Linked DNA regions of Homo sapiens: region 1 is linked to region 2. The links are contacts of gene promoters, found by promoter capture Hi-C in human tissues and cell types (Jung and others, 2019). All regions are on one chromosome and are shown on one strand. The core of a region is centred on a gene start or on the middle of the fragment in contact, and the rest is flanking DNA. Distances in the headings are between cores, read along the strand shown. Region 1 overlaps MTREX (Mtr4 exosome RNA helicase). Region 2 holds the start of DDX4 (DEAD-box helicase 4).

Region 1 (3,181 bases), core at 132-2,631, 380 kb before region 2:
GGCTGAGGCGGGCAGATCACAAGGTCGGGAGATCAAGATTTTGCTGTTTTCCAGAATATCCAGCTCAAAGGTATTTTTTACTGCCAGTGAATTAGCCAATATTTCCCAGAAGCTGTCATATATTTGTAAGCATAATTAACAGTAATTGGCTTATGTGGAAAGCCAAAATTTTTAAAAGCCTAAATTTTAGGCTTTAAATTTAGATTAAAAGCATAAATTTTCGATCCAAAATGATAATAAGTCTAAAATTTAGTTTTGTTATGTCAGTGTGATGTCGGTTTGAAACATTATTCTCACATGTTTTGCATTTTTGTGCTTTGACTTTAACTCTTCTCAAACTTCATGTTGTTTTTAATCATGTTTCCTTTCTTAGGGTTTATAACTTGTTATAAATTTTATAAAAAGAGAAATTTTAAGAATATGTTTTTTACCAGTTTTTTTCCTAAACTCTGAATTTTAACTATGTTCATTCAGATTTCTTCTGGTGAATACATTCAGATGTCTGGTCGTGCTGGAAGGAGAGGAATGGATGATAGAGGAATTGTAATTCTTATGGTAGATGAAAAGATGAGCCCAACAATTGGAAAACAATTACTTAAGGTAACTACATTAAGATTGTGTACCTTTACCAAGAATTCCAGAAATATACTTCAGGAGCCATTTCAGAATTGGTTGTGTCAGTCAGACACCTAAGTGAAATGAGTTAATATACTGAAACTATCTGGGCTTGGGAAGATGGAAGGGTGTGATTACTCAAAATACTAACATCTTGTATCCTACTTCACCTAATAGGTGGAGAGCAACTCATGTAATGGATAGGGTGTGAAGATCTCCAGAGAGGGCAGAAATGTTTACTTTGTCCTCCAAATTTAAGAAATCTCTTTATTTGACCCATCCACTGCACAAGTTGTTCTTTACCTGGTAGAACAGGAAGTTCTGTTCTACTGATAATCAAGTGTTTTGGGCAGGCAATGAGCTTCCTCTACCTTTGCAAGCGCAGATAGCTTAATAGGTTAATTCAGCAATCTGCGTTTACACTTTACCCTATTGATTATAAATATCCCAATCAAAAAGGACACATTTTAAGCTTTATTGCAGATTAGACTTTTATTTTGCTTGCTTAGTATTTGTGCTTCGGATGGTCTAGGATTTTGTTTTGAAGAGCTTCTCAAGGAAGATTGGCCTGGTTGCCTTTTTTCTTCTTATCCATATAGAGAAAAGTGTTAATAAGATAGGAAACTTTAATTAAAAACACAAAATTAATTGCCAGCTTATTAGCTACTTAAAAGTAGCTACTTCAAAACATGTTAAGACACACTTAGGTCAGTATCTATGAAACAGATTGTGTGTCTAACTTTTTAGACTTGGGAACTTTGTGGAGAATTTGAGATATAGTCATAATGAAGCTTGGTATGTTGAAGCAAAATTGATGAAGGTGTGTATATCTTTATATGTCTTTACATGAGTGAAGACAAAGCTTGTCTGTACATATTCATAATAATCGTATTGTGTCTTATTTTCAACTTTAGAGATTAACACTTGGAAACCTCTTTAGTGCTTCATGAAAGGAAAATTAAACAAGGCTGAAAATTTGTATTTTTATTCTTTTCTCTAATTGTGCCAGATATAGCACATGCTATTTTTCTTTCCTTGTACTGTGTGTGTGGAAAGAACAGAATCGGATTGCCAGATTATAGGAGGTAATATTTTAATGACAGCATCTGGTTCCTTTAGTGCAGAGTTTTCATTCCATTTACTTGACGTTTCTGGATTTGTTACTTTGTAAGTGTAAAGTTCTATCACCTTTCATTGCATTTTTAAAATTAACTTTTCTAATAGACTTATTGAGCTATAATTCACATACCATACAAGTCACTCATTTCCATGGTTTTTAATATATTCATAGAGTTTTGTCACCATCACCACAATCAATTTTAGAATATTTTCATCAATCCAAAAAGAAACCCCTGTACCTATTAACAGTCACTCTTCTTTCTTCACAAGACCACCCCTACCTCAAGCCCTAGACAACAACTAATTTGCTTTCTGTCTCTATGGATTTGTCTGTTGTGGACATTTCATATAAACAGACTCGTATAATGTGTACCCTTTTGTATCTGGCTTTTTTTCACTTAGCCTAATGTTTTCAAGTTTTATGCATGTTGTAACATCTATGAGTACTTCATTCCTTTTCATTGCTGAATAATATTTCATTGTATGGGTATGCCAAACTTGATCTGTTCATCAGTGGATGGACATTTGGATTGTTTCCATGTTTTGGCTGTTGTGAGTAATGCTGCTATGAACTTTTTTTTTTTTTTACAAGTCTTTACTTGAATATGTGTTTTCTTTTCTCCTGACTGTGTACCTAGGAATGGAATTGCAGGGTCATAGAGTAAATCTATGTGTAACCTTTTGAGGAACTGCCAGACTGTTTTCTTTAGTAGTTGCACCGTTTTACATTCCCACAAGCATTATATGAGGCTTCTAATTTCTTTACATTCTAGCCAGCACTTGTTAGCTGCCCTTTTGGTTAATAGCCATCCTTGGGGTATGAAGGAGAACATTTCACTTTGAATATTATACAGTTTGACTGATTGAAAGGAGTACCTGTTTTTGTGTCTGCATTTCTAGGCATATTTCTTTTATCAAGACTGGCATACAACCTTTTTCCTCTAGGTTTTTTTCCAGGTGGTTTTACTATCATTAAGGAATTTATAAGTAACTTATTCAGTATTTGTAACAACTAATACTTATTGAATATTCAATATGTTCCAAATGTTAATTACAATAATTATGTTATTATCTCCATTTTATAAATGGCATGCAGAGGTTAAAAAATTTGTCCAGAGCTATGTTGTTGTTAAATGGCAAATCCTGCTTTTGAACTCAGGCAGTCTGATTTCAGAGTTTATGCTTCTAACTACTATATGGTACTGCTTCTCAGTACCTCTTGCAAATAGATTTTTCAACTATTAGTTTAAACACTATTTGACATGAGACAACAGTTTGTTCTTTGATGTACTTAAAGTAGATAGGCTAAAAAATAGTCATGTCAGGTATATTTTCTTATAGGCAAAAATAATTGATCATTCTTAAGTAATTTCAGAACTTTAATAGAAATACTGAGTACTTAAAGTCATTTTCTCAAAAATTAAAATACGTAGCTTCTTCATAGTCA
Region 2 (3,183 bases), core at 608-3,107:
TATGATCATTAGTGCACTCCCCTCTGGGTGACAGAGTGAGACCTTGTCTCAAAAATAAATAAATAAATAAATAAAAAATATATTCATTTTGATCATCTTGAGAATAGTCTGACAAAGTTTATTGCTAACTAGATGAATCCTGAAATTCTTGGTGGTGATGGTTCTAGAGATAAAAAGTATGAAGCAAGCCTGAGCCTATTAAGTGCTTTATCCTTTATGTACCAGTATCAAACTGTGTTGCTATTTATGTTCCTGAATGAGATAGGAATTTCTTCAGATTCAGAGAAGGGAAAATGACAGAAACGACAACAAAAATGAGAACTACACTTTTTTTTTTTTTTTTTTTTTTTGAGGCGGAGTCTCGGTCTGAGGCCCAGGCTGGAGTGCAGTCGCGCGATCTCGGCTCACTGCAAGCTCCGTCTCCCGGGTTCACGCCATTCTCCTGCCTCAACCTCTGGAGTAGCTGGGACTACAGGCGCCCGCCACCACGCCCGGCTAATTTTTTGTATTTTTAGTAGAGACGGGGTTTCGCCGTGTTAGCCAGGATGGTTGCATCTCCTGACCTCGTGATCCGCCCGCTTCGGCCTCCCCAAGTGCTGGGATTACAGACAGACGTAAGCCACCGCGCCCGGCCTCTGAGAACTACACTTTTAAAACAGCCCATGGTCACGCGTTTTGAAGGGCTGGGGAAATACTGAGGGATTTTACCTGCTTTTGGGGTGGGGGGTGGGGGCAGAACAAGAAAATCTGATTGAAGACAGCATGAAGTATCAAAATAACCCTTGGCCACTTTGGCTAGTGCCCGTAGGAATATAAACAGGTGGGCCACAAATCCAAGCCTTGATGAATGACCTATGCCAGCACCAATTTCCTCCCTCCTTCTGGATCAGAGCCTGTTTCCTTCCAAAGTGGTGGACCCCCGAAATCTTACAGGCTTTTTTTTTTTTTTTTTTTTCCTCTGTCTCACTCTGTCGCCCAGGTAGAGATCAATGGCATGATCTCGGTTCATTGCAACCTCTGCCTCCCGGGTTCAAGCGGTTCTCTTGCCTCAGCCTCCTGAGTAGCTGGGACTACAGGCAGCCGCCACCATACCCGGCTAATTTTTTTAATTTTAGTAGAGACGGGGTTTCACCATGTTGGCTAGGCTGGTCTCGAACTCCTAGCCTCATGTGATCCGCCCGCCTCGGCCTCCCAAAGTGCTGGGATTACAGGCGTGAGTCACCATGCCCAGCCGAGTCTAACTTTCTTTACGATTTCCTGGGGTCCCAGCTGGACGGAGTCTCATCCCTGCCCCCCTTACTGGGAGGAAAAGGGAATGCACCTCCTCCATGAGCCTCAGCTGCACTTTGAGGCACCTGGAATCCCCGGATGTGGAGCGAGTCTCTGAAATGCAGAACCCGAGGGGCCAACCCATGGACTGTGATGGGTAAAAGGGGAGAGAGCACTAAAGAGGCCAAGTAGGGAGGACATTATCCCTTTCCCCTTTTATTATTATTTTTTGTTAGAAAAAGGCAGGTGGACATATTTAGCTTGCGAAGCTTGCACAAGGAAAATCCAGAGCGTCTCCAGAATAAGGATCCCACGAGAGAACGTGGACACAAGTAGGCCCTCAGCCAGCCTTGTACCCACAGGCCCAACAGGCCACTTGGCTATGAGGCCAGAGCGTCGCCATAGGGGCCCGAACGCTAGCGTTTAGGGAATCCGCAGGCTAGAAGTGGAGGCGGGACGCCACTGGTCGTCTGAGCGCTGATTGGCTGGTGGCGCTAGTCACCAGCCAATCGTCAACAGACGCCATTTGTTGTTGGAGCCACGCACCTGACGCAGTGGGCGTCTTGCACGTGCAGCCGTTTAAGTCGCGTGGGCGCCTGCGAGGGCTTGGGAGAGCAAGCCGCGGAGAGGTGAGTGGGCCGCTTTTCTACGGGAACTGGCCTGAACTCGGCCGTACGGGCTCCCCAGTAACCGACCTTTGGCCAAAGTGTGGATGGAGTAGGAGGAGTTTTGAAGCCGTCCTTCGAAGCCTTTCTGCCTCGGGGTCTCAGAGTCCCACGGGTGCCCAAAGTCTGGGCTTGAGGCCTGCAGAGGAGGCGAAGGGGCCTTATTCCTGGCTTCTTCACTGCGTTTTCTCTGAACAGACATGGTCCGAGTACCATTTGTGTACAAATCCTTCTTGATGAAGCTGGTTGTCCTTTGTCGGCAGGATTTGGGCAACCATACCCTTCTTCCCTTCCCCACTAAAATCCAAGGCCTCCCTCTTCACCGAGTCGCCGCCCCCCTACCCAGTCGACTCCCGTACCCCTGTCCCCGCCCCCACGCACGCCACAAACACCCCAAAGCAAACATCCTATCCACCTTGGATGTTAATCATGCGAAGGGAGAAATCTTAAGTAGTTTCTGAAAAAAGTTGCCTCTCCCTTAATATTCAGTAAGTCGTTTGGGGACCCTTTGAGGGAGGAGATAAAGTCTATGAACAGATGTTTGGGAAAAGCCTAAGTCTTGCTGGGGACATGGCGATTGCTAGAATGACTAGGTAAGAGGTTCAACTAGTTTCTAAAGCTAAGAAAGGATGGAGATAAATGCCACCTTTAGATAAGAAGAGACCTAATTCCTTCTTTGGAAAAAACTTTTGGGGTATCAGCACCTAGTTGGGTAGTTTCAAGATGTATGTGAAACAATGAGTTTATGCTTTTAAAGTTATGATTCTGATCTAATTGAGTCCAAATGTGCATTTTTTTTTTTTTATGAATAGAACTTGAAGCCACCATGGGAGATGAAGATTGGGAAGCAGAAATCAACCCTCATATGTCTTCCTATGTTCCCATATTTGAGAAGGTAATAACATTTAAAGTTTAGTTATTAAATGCTACGGATTTTATCAAAGTTGAAAATCACTGTGGTGAGAGTTCTAAATTATACAGTCTGTGTCAGTGTTTATCTCCATGTGATTGTTATTAACTATTATATGGGGAATAAGAGACAACCTAAGCCTCGTATAGGATACAATAGCTTGAGGCAATTTGATAATTAAAAGCTAAAATAGATGTAAAAATATTAATGACCTAATTTAAATCTCAATGATTTAGGACTTCCTCAGGTGAAAGCAAACTTGGGCAAATGTGGTTGATATCAGTGAAAGACGCTTGTATGGAAAATTGAAAACAATAATTACGTTTTGGGAGATATTTT

What was found. The method cuts DNA at HindIII sites, captures the fragments that hold promoters and counts their contacts. A contact is called where the count stands out against the background at its distance.
Region 1: a contact is called between a fragment that was not itself captured here and the fragment with the promoter of DDX4 in region 2, in 1 of the 25 tissues and cell types used here (spleen).

The regions. Positions count from the first base shown.
Region 1 is chr5:55,358,099-55,361,279 of GRCh38, forward strand. It overlaps MTREX (Mtr4 exosome RNA helicase), which reads left to right. Exons shown (of 27, transcript NM_015360.5): 15 at 475-600. Among named protein-coding and RNA genes, the nearest start is that of MTREX, 52 kb to the left of the region's middle. The HindIII fragment of the contact is 3,997 bases long and covers 1-3,181 here.
Region 2 is chr5:55,736,204-55,739,386 of GRCh38, forward strand. It overlaps DDX4 (DEAD-box helicase 4), which reads left to right and starts at 1,858. Exons shown (of 22, transcript NM_024415.3): 1 at 1,858-1,898; 2 at 2,747-2,829. The coding sequence starts at 2,761. The HindIII fragment of the contact is 12,969 bases long and covers 25-3,183 here.